Regions from separate parts of the Homo sapiens genome. Here all the other regions are linked to region 2. The links are contacts of gene promoters, found by promoter capture Hi-C in blood cells and fetal thymus (Javierre and others, 2016). All regions are on one chromosome and are shown on one strand. Each heading gives the region's core, a stretch centred on a gene start or on the middle of the fragment in contact. The rest is flanking DNA. Distances are from core to core; before and after follow the strand shown.

Region 1 (3,062 bases), core at 1-2,500, 860 kb after region 2:
TTTCCCTGTCTCTTTATCTGACTGCTAGGGAGGGAAAAGGACTGAAATGCCCAGCAGGTGCTCAAGAATTGCTACCATGGCCAAAAATCTCCCTCTGCTCCCATGCCCTTGCTGAGAGGCAGTTCATCTACAGCCAAAGTGAAGTGCTGCAGGGATCTATACTCAGGTCTTGGACAGGACTTGGAGATGTGATGAGTACTTACGAAATGGTACCTCGGAGCCTCTGAAGAAGGGTGGTAGGTTCCCCAGCCTCAGCACCACCTGGGGGGGCCCTTCCCCCAGTCTTGGGGCTCTTAGCATCAGGCTCATCTTCTGCCATCCCGGCATGAGGGCTAGAATTGAGAGGGACAGGCATAAAGATGTAACTCACACTGGCCTTCCCTTCCCCAGAAGGCCCCAGGGCACTCCTCATCTCTTTACCCAGAAAGGCAGAGAAACAGAAACAAAGCCTCCGAATTTCCCCGGTGGTCTTTTTCTCACCACTTGCCTTCTCCGAAAATTAGAAATTATTCCATTACTTCGCCAGGCCCATATATGCCCAAAGAGATCTTTGCCATCTCCATTCTATCTGCCCCACCTTTCTGAAGTCTCCTAAATCTGGAAAACTGTAAAGGAAGAGATAGGGGGATTGGGAATCCATGTTAGCAAGAAATTTTCATTTCTGCCTCTGACCCCATACTGCCCTCCTCCCCCTCAAAAACAACAATAACAGCCACAAAACAAAGTTCTCTAATTCTCAAAAATACTCCTCACCATTGCATATGCCTGGGAGGTCAGAAAGGATACGAACATATTCTGCCCTTCTAGGCTTGGAAAAAAAACTGGGCCCAAGTTCTCATTACTTAATCTCGCCACGACTTCCCCCGCTGCTCCCCCTCCCCACGTCGCCGGCCCCTACGTCATCTCCCACAACAGCCCATCCTGAGGCGCGCCCCCACCTCCTTCCCTTCCCCCTCCATTCAATCCCCGGTTTCTGCAAAGTGGAGCGGGGGTGGGGCGGGGTAGCGGAACTCATGCGCTGGGCGTCAGAAACCCGGCAGGGGAATGGGGTCCCAGATTCCGGGCACGTGCACATGGGTGAAGAAGCTGTTGAAAATACAGCTACAATCTTTTTCTGCTCTCCTCCCAACTCATCTTGCCCCTCCCTACCTCTGAACAGTCGCCTTCCAACACAAGCAACAATAAAGGTAAGGGAGAAAGAGAAACTACCTCGTAGCCACCTTCACTCCAGCCCAGCCCCAAGGTCCTGGCCCAGCCGGCTCGTGCGTTGCTTTATTTTCCTTTTTCTGAATGGTTGTAACAGCCGCGATCTGCCTAGATACACGGGCGGCCTGCTCTGTCATTGGTCACTGCTGCCACCCGGAGACAGAAGGCGCCGGGCTCGTACCGGCGGCCGCTGAAGTCTGCCTGGTAACAGAATCTGATTGGTCAATAGGGGAGGGAAAATCCAAAGTTGGTCTTATTTGAGTCAAGAGGGGGAAGTCCGGGTTGGGTTTCGGTTAAAACTGGGGTCGGTTGGGACTGCAGGTCCCAAGAGGTTCTTCTCTTAAAGGGACCGCAGGATGAAAGAACGGGCGCTCGGCTCCCTTTGGAACTGTCTTTTCTTTTGCCCTCCCCTTTTGTGTTTCAGTTTAGTCTACGGTCCTCAGAGCTGCCGGAAGAGAAGAATCAATGGATGATAAAATAACTAGACAATGATGGGTAGGAGTGATGGAAGTTCACTGTAAGCTCCTATAACCCCCCATCACCATCACCACATGCCTAATACAACCTGCAGACACACTTACTCGCAACAGACCTGCAATCTGGGCTCTCTTTTCCTTCTTGATGGAGGCCTCAAAACCTCAGCAGTTGTACCCATTAAACTAAAATGCTTTTTCCCTCTTAGTATTTCTTGGTTTCCCGTGTGTACTTTACTTCCAAAGAGTTGCAAATGCATTTGCATCCCCATAGTTCTGCAGTCGGTGAACCCTGGAATTTTGATGGACTCCCACGGGGGTGCTGGATGCCACAGGAACTTTTTACACTCAGGGAACATTGTACTGAATAGGTCATGGGTTCTTAACCCTCTTACTTAAGACATTTTAAGGTTATGAATCAGACAAAAGCAATGGACCCTCTACCATGAAAAATGCACACAGAGACCAAGTTTTGCATCTAATTTCAGAGAGGTCATGGACTCCAGGTTGAAAGCCTCTTACATGGATGTATTTTGTTTTGCGCAGCGGTCATGTTACAACCAAAACTGTATTTGCCATCCTGACATCTAATATGTTCTCCAGGCTCATCATTAATGTGCTTTTGTAAAGAAGACAGTAGTGCTGCCTGAGCTCATCACCATTGCCCTTTACAGCCTACCTTTCCCTATTATCAGCTTCTATGAGTGCTGGGGGAACCCAGGAGATTGTGGAGTTGGGGCAATAAGGATATATTGGCAAGAGGTTTTCTTTTTTCTTTCTTTCTTTCTTTTTTTTTTTTCTTTGAGACGGAGTCTCGCTCTGTTGCCCAGGCTGGAGTGCAATGGCACGATCTTGGCTCACTGCAACCTCCGCCTCCTGGGTTCAAGCGATTCTCCTGCCTCACCCTCCCGAGTAACTGGGTTTACAGACGTGCATCACCACGCCCAGATAATTTTTGTGTTTTTAGTAGAGACGGAGTTTCACCATGTTGGTCAGGCTGGTCTCAAACTCCTGACTTCAGGTGATCCACCTGCCTTGGCCTCCCAAAGTGCTGGGATTACAGGTGTGAGCCACTGCACCTGGCCAGGTTTTCTAATAACAGCTAAAATTTATTTGGTGTTTATTAGGCCAGGCGCGGTGGCTCACGCCTGTAATCCCAAAACTTTGGGAGGCTGAGGTGGGCGGATCACCTAAGGTTGGGAGTTCGAGACCAGCTTGACCAACATGAAGAAACCCCGTCTCTACTAAAAATACAAGATTAGCCGGGCGTGGTGGCGCATGCCTGTAATCCCAGCTACTCGGGAGGCTGAGGCAGGAGAATCACTTGAACTGGGGAGGCGGAGGATTGTGCCATTACACTACAGCCTGGCAACAAGAGCGAAA
Region 2 (3,000 bases), core at 363-2,862:
CTCGGGAGGCTGAGGCAGGAGAAGCGCTTGAACCTGGGGAGGCGGAGGTTGCGGTAAGCCGAGATCACGCCACTGCACTCCAGCCTGGGCAACAAGAGTGAAACTCCATCTCAAAAAAAAAAAAAAAAGATTAAAAGGTCTATAAAGTCCCTATTAAGCACCATGAGTATAAAGGGACTCAAACTGACCTCTGCAGATTCTTGATTCCAGCTTTTTTGTTTTTGTTTTGTTTTGAGATGAAGTCTCGCTCTTGTCCCCCAGGCTGGAGTGCATGGCGTGATCTCGGCTCACTGCAACCTCCACCTCCCGGGTTCAAGCGATTCTCCTGTCTCAGCCTCCCAAGTAGCTGGGATTACAGGCGCCCACCACCATGCCCAGCTAATTTTTGTATTTTTAGTAGAGACGGGGTTTCACCATGTTGGCCAGGCTGGTCTAGAACTCCTGACCTCAGGTGATCCACCCGCCTCGGCCTCCCAAGTAGCTGGGATTACAGGCGCCCACCACCACGCCCAGCTAATTTTTGTATTTTTAGTAGAGACGGGGTTTCACCATGTTGGCCAGGCTGGTCTAGAACTCCTGACCTCAGGTGATCCACCTGCCTCGGCCTCCCAAAGTGCTGGGATTACAGCGTGAGCCACTGCGCGCGGCCATCTTTGCTCCAGCTTTAAAGTGGTTACTCCAGAGGCTGAGGTGGTCAGTTGAGCCCAGGAGGTCGAGACTGCAGTGAGCCATGATTGTACCCCTGCACTCCAGCCTGGGCAACGGTGAGACCTTGTCTCAAAATTAAAAAATAAAACTGTTACAGTCATTTATCATAATAGCTTCTTGTTGCTTTTGCCCATTACCAAAAAACCATGGGCCACACTAGACGATTTACATAAAATTTAACTCAACAATTGGGAGCAACACTATTCTCATTTTATAGTTGAGAAAATTGAGGCTTAGAGAAATTAAATAGGTCAGGCAAGGCGGCTCATGCCTGTAATTCCAGAACTCTGGGAGGCCGGAGCGCGGTGGCGGTTTGGTGGGGGGGAGGGGAGGGATTGCTTGAGGCCAGGAGTTCGAGACTACCCTGGCCAACATAGTGAGACCCGCCCCCCCCTCCCGCCCCCCCCGGTCTCTATTAAATAAATATGAGAAGTTTAATAATTTTCCCAAAATTACATAGTTAATGGCAGATCCAGAATTTACACTAGGTCTGTCTGGTTCCCCAGTCTATGCTCTTAAGTTTTGCTACTTGCTGTAAGGACCACGTAAAATAAAATGTATAGTTAAAGGGAAATTACTACCATTTCCTGTCTGGTTTTCTCCCACTCTCGCCCTCAAAAGTTCACCTGCCCTTGTCCTCAAAGCCACAGGACGCCTAATTGCTATTTTTGGGTTTCAGCTGAAACGCCACGGGTCTGGGGGAATAGCGAGGGTGTGTTACATTTTCGGTCTTCCGGTCAGCCGGAACCACTCACACCGCTGCTGGTGCTGTGTAGGGTGTACCTCTTCGGAGTTCCTGGAGGTGGTGCCAGACTAGAGTGGCAGCTGTAGTAACCAATAGACACGGACTTTGTTGGACCAGAAGCCAATGAAGAATTACGTGGAGGAGAAGCGGCGATAATCTGTTTGAGGATGTAGGCACTGGTGTGAAGGAACATGGCCCTGTATCAGAGGTGGCGGTGTCTCCGGCTCCAAGGTTTACAGGCTTGCAGGCTACACACGGTGCGTGAGGCACCCCCAAAGCTCCGATCCGCATCAGACTTAGCCCAGCCGAAGCCCCCAAATTTTTATGTTAACCCAGCCTCACGCCACTCCTCCTCTCCCTGGTCCTCCGAGTCCCCAGAAAAGGACTCGTATCTAAACTCGTTATCTAATTCTCGAGTTAGCGGTCTGGGGGACTCTGAGCTCGAAGGACCCCCAGCCTAGGGTCTTGTATCACCCAATCCCCTTAAAAAGTAGGAATTCGGACGAAGTCCACTTAACCATCCCAAAGTGCCATCATCTGCAATTCTAAGAAAGAATGATGGGACGTGTGTTACCTGCTAATATATCTTTCCCTCCAGGCAGTTGTGTCGACCCCTCCACGCTGGTTGGCAGAGCGGCTTGGCCTTTTTGAGGAGCTGTGGGCTGCTCAGGTAAAGAGATTAGCAAGCATGGCACAGAAGGAACCCCGGACTATTAAGATATCACTTCCTGGAGGCCAGAAAATTGATGCTGTGGCATGGAACACAACCCCCTACCAACTAGCCCGGCAGATCAGGTAACAGGCCCATCCTGTAACTACCAGGATTATCCTTCTGCCCCTTTACTTTCTCTTCACTTGAGCAGGGGAAGAAAACTTGGTCTGCTTGTTTCTGTTCCGTCCCCATTAAGATAGCCTTTCCTGAAGATTTTGTTTTTGTTTTTTGTTGTTGTTCTTTTATACAGACGGGGTCTCTCCATGTTGCCCAGGCTAGTCTTGAACTCCTGGGCTCAAGCGATCCTTCCATCTCAGCCTCCCGAAGTGCTGGGATTACAGGCATGAGCCACCAAACCCGGCCTGAGATTTGTTTTATCTGTATTAGTTTCTGCATCAGAGTCTCTGTCCTTTCATTGGGGAAAGAAATGAAAGCTTCTGTTGCTCTGGTAACTCATTTCACCTTTGCAAGTTTACAGTTGCTGAGAGATGAGCAACTTTCTCCCCACTGTGGATTGTAACCCTGTCTGTTTTAAATCATTAATTTACTTTTTAATAATTGATACATAATAATTGAACATATGAATGGGTATATGTGATATTTTGATATATGCATACAATATGTAATGATCAAATCAGGGTGTTCAGGATATCTGTTACCCCAAACATTTATCATTTCTTTGTGTTGGGACTATTTCAAATCTTCTAGCTATTTTGAAATATACAATAAATTATTATTAACTGTATTCACCCAACTCTGCTATGGAACATTAGAGCATATTCCTTCTGTCTAACTCTATTTTTGTACCCATTAGCCAACCTCTTCATCTCCCCTC
Region 3 (2,937 bases), core at 253-2,752, 570 kb after region 2:
GAGAGGGGGAGGAGAAGGAGAGAGGGAAAGGGGCAGTGGAGAGAACAAGGCCATTTCTGTTTCTTTTCCAGGGACCTGACCAGAGCTGGGTGGAGGGAAAGCGTGTGTGTGGGACTTGGCATGAAATGACCAATGATGACGAGAAGTGACCAGGAAATTCCATTCCCTAGGACATTAGGGTCTCTGAAACTTGAGGGTGGGGTCAGAGTGTGAAGAAGACAGGTCAGGGTGAATGTGATGGTAGCGCAGGGCAGTGGGGGATGGGAACAAAGCCAGAAAAGGAAGTAAGAGCCACTGGCGGCCACTCTTCTTTAAAGCAGCCAGAAGAGAGTGGGTTGAGGAAAAATGAAGTCCTGAGCTGGTCAGCCCAGGCGGAAGAGCCACCCGAATCCAACCCCACAGTGAATAGGGAAGGGGCTGAGAAAACAACAGGAGGGATGAGGATTAGACCTCATAAGGCCACGTCCTGAGAGCCAAGTGGTGCTCAGAACTCGACCTCTCTGAGTTCCAAATGGCAAGAGTGAAATATGGAACCGGGAAAGCCACCCCCCGCCCCCACCAAGATCATACTAGGACTTGAGGGTCTCAGAGCTGTTGGGAGGTGAGCAGAAGGGATGGGAAAGAGGTGCCAGGGAGGAAGGATGTACAGGCTAGTTCTCTGGTCCTGTTCGGGCCCCAAACCGGTTCTCCCGGTCCCACCGCCTCTGGCCCTAAGGCCTCCAACCCGCGGCCTGACAAGCCCTCACATGAAGCAGCTGGAGAGAAAGAAAGAATCGAGAGAATGGCATGGGCAATTCTGGCTAGAAGCCCGGGGCAGCAGCTGGTCCCTGTGTGGAGACCCCGAGACATGGAGGGCTGCTGAGGGACTCTGGAGAAGCGGTGTGGACTCCATATTTCAGCCAAGTGACAGGCCCAACACCAACCTTCCCTTCCCCAGGAAAGGTCTTCTGGGGGCTTAAGAGGAAAGAGGGCTAGGCCCTAAGCCTCCCCTCCCCAAATATATTCAATCACACAGATTCCGTATCTGTCTCCCCCCACTACACAACTCTACCTAGAAGTTCTCTGCTGTTCTCAACCCTTAACCGGACTGGGACCTCTCTGGGAATCTTTCGGACCCTCTCCCTCCCACCTCCCCCAACATTCCAGTTCCTTCTTTTCCTTCTACTCTTCAGCGGCCTCAGCCTGCGCACCCCAGGAGCGTGGATGACTACGGCCACCCCGGGCGCGCACCCCTTTCCCACCACCCCAGCATCTCTGCAGCCCAGGACACCCGCCTCCCCCACACCCCGCATCCGGTGTGTCTCCGCCTGGCCCGGCCGGCGCGGCAGGCGGGCCAGGGGACCAACTGCACGGCCTCACCTGCTCTTCTCCACCATCCAGACGTTCAGCTACAGCTGGTGGGGGTGAGGGACTCTGCTCCGTGGCCGCCAGTGTGGGCTTCCCGGGCTAGCTCTGCGGCGAGGTGGGGGAGCCGAGTACGAGCCGGCAGAGGTGGGGCCGGCTGAGGGCGGAAGCGGCGGCGACGCGATTACGAAACCCGTCCGGCTCGGAGCCCGGCGCACTGCTCCCCTCTGGACTGCGGAGGCACTGCACTGCGCGGGACGTGGGAGGGTGCCTCTGCAGCCCCTCAAGGCCGCCGCCCCTGCGGGGAGAACTGGAGAATGCGGACACCTAGATGAGGCCCTGGCACCCAAGCTGGGGCCCCCGGAATCTCACGTTCCCTTTACTCGCCAGGCATTTCGGGGCAAAACGAAGCGGAGCCCCCCAAACCCCCAGACCTAACCAAGTTCAGAGATTCGCAGAAGCACGCCCCCCACCCCAAATTTATTGTGCTCTACCCAAAATGGAATAGGACTAGGTTTATTTACCCATTGTGAGGGTAGAGAGGCGAGTCTGGAGGAGCAGGGATTGGGAGAAGGGGTGGAAAAATACTCTGATTCTTAAAAATACTTTGTAACCTAAAGTCCTTAAATTGTGGAAGAAAGGAATACTCCTCCTTTCCATTGTAGTCTAGAGTTAAGATTTCAAATCCATAAATTAGAGGACCTAAAATTAGAGGGCAATTAACTGCTCATTCATTGGGCCCCCAGTCAGCACGGGGGTGCTGGAAGAGATCGGGAATAATAGCGCAGACCAATGAGCCTAGGGAGATGCTTTCATCGTCTCTCCTTCCCTCAAGTGTTCTGGAACCTATCATTTGAATTAGCCGAGTCAGGCAGGAGGGGGCGGGGAATCCTTCCGCCCTTCTTAGGAGGGGCTGCATTGCAGGGGGAGAGTGAACTGACAGACTCAGTCACTGAAGAGGGAAAAGGAGTGAGAAGACAAAGCCGTCAAAGCCCCAACAGCTTTGTATTTCTCCAGCCCGGCGCAGACCCCGGAGCTCCCGAGGCACTCCCTCCATCTTTGGAACACGCCAGTAATTGATTGATAACAGGTAAACCAAACTGAGGGAGGGGGCAGGGGGCTGCAAAGATAGAAGAGCGGCTGCTTATGGTTAGATTGAAAGACCCCACATGAGGTGGGGGACAGCTGAAGAGGAGAGAAGGGGGCGCTATGAACAATGGGTAGTTATTTCTTCACAGCATCCATGCCTTGTTACCTTATACAGACCATTAATCTCTAACAATTTACTTGTAGTTATTTCTCAGCACCTACCTCATTTCAAGTATCCTTTTCTGTAATTTATTGTCCTGTGTATTTAATATCTTCAGTCTACTTATCTTCCTTTTCAAACCATAATTTGTTTTACCAGCTGTTTAATTTTTAGTCCTACTGTATCTCTCTGTCCTCTACTTCCCTATACTTGCAATTTTTTTCTGTAGTGTTCTATGTTTCTCTGTAGGAGGGAGTTTGGGAGGGGGTTATATGGGATAATGTTGGGTGTAATCCTGACCTTTCTTTGGATAATCTCTTTCATTCCACCTCGAATCTTTGCTC
Region 4 (3,327 bases), core at 32-2,531, 670 kb after region 2:
ATGTTTAAGCTTATTTCCCTCGCCAGATTCCCCATAAGATTCTTGATAGCAAGTGTTTTTGTCTCATTCAACAACTGTGACTTCCAGGATGGGTGCAGTGGCTCACGCCTGTAATCCCAACACTTTGGGAGACTAAGGTAGGAGGATTGCTTGAGCTTAGAAGTTCAGCCTGGGCAACATAGTTAGACCCTCCTCTCTACAAAAAAAAGGAAGGCTTGTGAGCCTCTGGTCCCAGCTACTTGGGAGGCTGAAGTAGGAAGAGCTCTTGAGCCCAGGAGGTCAAGGCTGCAGTCAGCTGTGATGATGCCACTGCACTGTGGCCTGGGCGACAGAGTGAGACCCTATCTCAAAAACAAAACAACAAACAAACAAACAAAACCCAATTGTGGCTTCCCCTCATTTTGTATCCCTTTAGCAGCTACAAAGTAGCTACTACAGTAGCCTACTCAGTAGGCCCTGCGGGGTGCGTTGGCTCACACCTGTAATCCCAGCACTCTGGAAGGCCAAGGTGGATCACCTGAGGTCAGGAGTTCAAGACGATCCTGGCCAACATGGTGAAACCGTCTCTACTAAAAATACAAAATAAGCCAGGCATGGTGGCACAGGCCTGTAATTTCAGCTACTTGGGAGGTTGAGGCAGGAGAATCACTTGAACCCGGGAGGCAGAGGTTGCAGTGAGCCGAGATCACCCCATTGCACTCCAGCCTGGGCAACAAGAGCAAAACTCTGTCTCAAAAAAAAAAAAAAAAAAAAAAAAAAAGGCAACTCAGTAGGCTTGTTCCTCTACGCTAGTGATTCAGTGCTGTGCTGGCACCTGCTGGTCACCTGTGGTGCAGCAGCCCTGGTCCCAGCACCTTCCTCCCTTCAGTATTAAGGGTTGTGACAGTCTGTGCTCTTACCTGGCAATCACTGGAATAATATATTAAATACTTGCCCCACAGCACCACCTTTCAATCTTCAGAACTTTTCCCACTGACCTCCTACCCCAGAAATTTGGGCTTTACATCCTTCCCAGTACTGTAGAAATGTAAGGACAGGATCTTCAGGAACTGGGCAGCAAGAAAAGAAAGAAGCAATTTGAGAGTGGAGGATGCAAATCCCTTTCCCCCCTTCAAAGAATTGAGACTATTTCCAACAGAATTCCACTCTTTTTGACCTTTGTCTTATTTCTAGGTTGCTCTTGGGCCATAGGCCTTCTTGGTGACAGAAGTGATGAACCGGAGGTTAAGCAGAGAGTAGGTAGGCGGGGCTCAAGGGGTGGGGCCAAGCCAAAGGGCTCTCACACTAAGTGAAGCTTCTCCATTCTGTAAGCTTTCCGGGAACATCCAAGGCAAGACTGGCACCCAGCACAGCAGGTGAGGGACCGGCAGTGACAGAATGGTAGACTTTAGGGGTAATGGTGGCAGAGGAATCTCTAGCTCTTTCAGTCTTAGCTTTTCATATTGTGAAACTCTCGCTTGTACAATTCTTGGGTCCTTTGTAGAGCTTAGCTTAGTTTTTCTGGTGGCAAGGCAGCCTCTGAAAGACCTGGTTTTGGATGCGGTGGGGGCAGGGCTGAGGGATGCAGGTGGATCCACATCCATATGGATGTGTGCGAAATGCAAGGAAATCTTAGGAAACAAGGAGATAGATGGGTAAGGGCCAGAGGGAGAGTATGGCCAGGCCAGAGGATCATAGGGAGGACCCAGACAAGAGAAAAAGGGAGACTGAAACAGGGAGAGAGGGAGAAGACAGCGGAATAAATGTGAGACGGCAATGGGGGCAATGGAGAGCTGGGTAACAGGAAGGCCAAGGAGGAAGGAAGGCTCACATGGAGCAATCTCCTCTTCCGGCTGGGGAGCATGGTCCAGAAAGCCCCAAGGCAAGCTGGGAGCAAAGCAAGGTTCAGGTTTCCACTGGAAGGATTCAGCTGGGGAAAAAAACCCCCACAGTCTCCACCTCCTCTGCCTCTTCAGACTCCCATTTTGGTTTGGGGGAGAGGGCGAGGCTGCTCCTCACTGCGGTCACAGCCACATCCTGCAGAGCAGAGGAGGGGGAAGTAAGAAGCAAAACAACCAGAAGAACCACAGGCGAAGACCATGGGGAGAGAACCCTGGACACATGGAGCTGATATGCCACCAAGAGGGTCCTGAGTTCAGTGTAGCAGAAGGCTCAGACCTTCAGGACTGCCTGCCCTTCTTGAGGTGTTGGCTTCTCGTGCTTCCTCAGTGTGCTTTAACCACACTGGGAGCATTCCGGGGAAGGAGGTTTCTCTGGATTATTTGGTTTGAAGCCCATCTTTATAATTTACTAGTGACTTTGGCCAAATTGCTATATTTCTCTTCGCTTCAGTTTTCTCATTGCAAAATGGGGATACCTACCCTAACCTTACACAGGATTGGGAAGGCTAAGATGACTGACGTAAAGCACTTGCATATAGTAGGTTCTCAGTAAATGTTAGTTATTACTCCTATTAGGATTCCTGGGATGCTTATGCTTCTTACTTTAAAGGAAGTATAGTGCACTAGCTGCCACTGGCTTTGGGGGCCAAAAAATGAGTTGCGTTTGATCTTGGGTAAATTACTTAATGTAAGTATCATTTGCTTAGCTGTAAAACAAGGATGGTAATATCTATGCCACACAGACATATGGCACAGAGTCAGTGTCCAAAAATGGTAGCTGTAAGAATTCTGTCAGGCTGGGCGTGGTGGCTCACGCCTGTATTCCCGGCACTTTGGGAGGCCGAGGTGGGCAGATCATGAGGTCAGGAGTTCGAGACCAGTCTGGCCAACATGGTGAAACGCTGTCTCTACTAAAAATACAAAAATTAGCCGGGCGTGGTGGTGGGTGCCTGTAATCCCAACTACTTGGGAAGCTGAGGCAGGAGAATAGCTTGAACCCGGGAGGTGGAGGTTGCAGTGAACAGAGATCACACCACTGCACTCCAGCCTGGGTGACAAAGCAAGACTCCGTCTCAAAAAAAAAAAAAAAAAGAATTATCTGTCAGGTAAGCCCTGTCTTCACTGCAGCAGCAACAGCCTACTTCCCCTTGAGATGTAACTTGTGCTAGGCTAGCCTCCCGTGTGCCCACATTCCTCCAGCCGGGGCTATCGCCACTCCCGTGGGCTGTTTTGGAGTCAAGATTTGCTACAGCACTAAGGGGAAAAAGCAGGCAGGAGCAAGGCATAGAGGACTGAGGGGCCCCAGGGGGCGGAGAGGATGACAAACAAAGATGATGATGACATGGAAACTAAAGAAGCAACAGAAAAGGGAAAAGCCATTTCTCTCTTTCTAAGGAAGCCTGTGGCCTTTCTTCTAGTGACTGACCACATACCCCACTCTCCAGGA

The links. The method cuts DNA at HindIII sites, captures the fragments that hold promoters and counts their contacts. A CHiCAGO score of 5 or more calls a contact.
Region 1: a contact is called between the fragment with the promoter of RFX5 here and the fragment with the promoter of TARS2 in region 2, in 2 of 17 cell types (neutrophils and total CD8 T cells). The highest score is 6.2, in neutrophils.
Region 3: the fragment with the promoter of CDC42SE1 here is called in contact with the fragment with the promoter of TARS2 in region 2 in 1 of 17 cell types (neutrophils); the score reaches 5.3 in neutrophils.
Region 4: a contact is called between the fragment with the promoter of TNFAIP8L2 here and the fragment with the promoter of TARS2 in region 2, in 5 of 17 cell types (fetal thymus, total B cells, non-activated CD4 T cells and 2 more). The highest score is 10.4, in fetal thymus.

What each region holds. Positions count from the first base shown.
Region 1 is chr1:151,346,002-151,349,063 of GRCh38, forward strand. It overlaps RFX5 (regulatory factor X5), which reads right to left and starts at 1,251. Exons shown (of 11, transcript NM_001025603.2): 1 at 1,210-1,251; 2 at 488-605; 3 at 204-332. The coding sequence starts at 319. It overlaps RFX5-AS1 (RFX5 antisense RNA 1), which reads left to right and starts at 1,009. Exons shown (of 2, transcript NR_131972.1): 1 at 1,009-1,187; 2 at 1,631-1,890. RefSeq lists enhancers at 84-173, 513-1,712, 767-1,349, 1,316-1,665. The HindIII fragment of the contact is 13,633 bases long and covers 1-3,062 here.
Region 2 is chr1:150,485,807-150,488,806 of GRCh38, forward strand. TARS2 (threonyl-tRNA synthetase 2, mitochondrial) reads left to right here and starts at 1,613. Exons shown (of 18, transcript NM_025150.5): 1 at 1,613-1,710; 2 at 2,052-2,248. The coding sequence starts at 1,645. RefSeq lists enhancers at 1,438-1,944, 1,438-1,707. The HindIII fragment of the contact is 2,845 bases long and covers 1-2,597 here.
Region 3 is chr1:151,058,120-151,061,056 of GRCh38, forward strand. CDC42SE1 (CDC42 small effector 1) reads right to left here and starts at 1,503. Exons shown (of 5, transcript NM_020239.4): 1 at 1,360-1,503. It overlaps MLLT11 (MLLT11 transcription factor 7 cofactor), which reads left to right and starts at 2,278. Exons shown (of 2, transcript NM_006818.4): 1 at 2,278-2,434. RefSeq lists an enhancer at 1,824-2,415. The HindIII fragment of the contact is 10,016 bases long and covers 1-2,937 here.
Region 4 is chr1:151,155,368-151,158,694 of GRCh38, forward strand. TNFAIP8L2 (TNF alpha induced protein 8 like 2) reads left to right here and starts at 1,282. Exons shown (of 2, transcript NM_024575.5): 1 at 1,282-1,355; 2 at 3,299-3,327. TNFAIP8L2-SCNM1 (TNFAIP8L2-SCNM1 readthrough) reads left to right here and starts at 1,282. Exons shown (of 7, transcript NR_144937.2): 1 at 1,282-1,355. It also overlaps a transcript of LYSMD1 not described here. The HindIII fragment of the contact is 1,285 bases long and covers 8-1,292 here.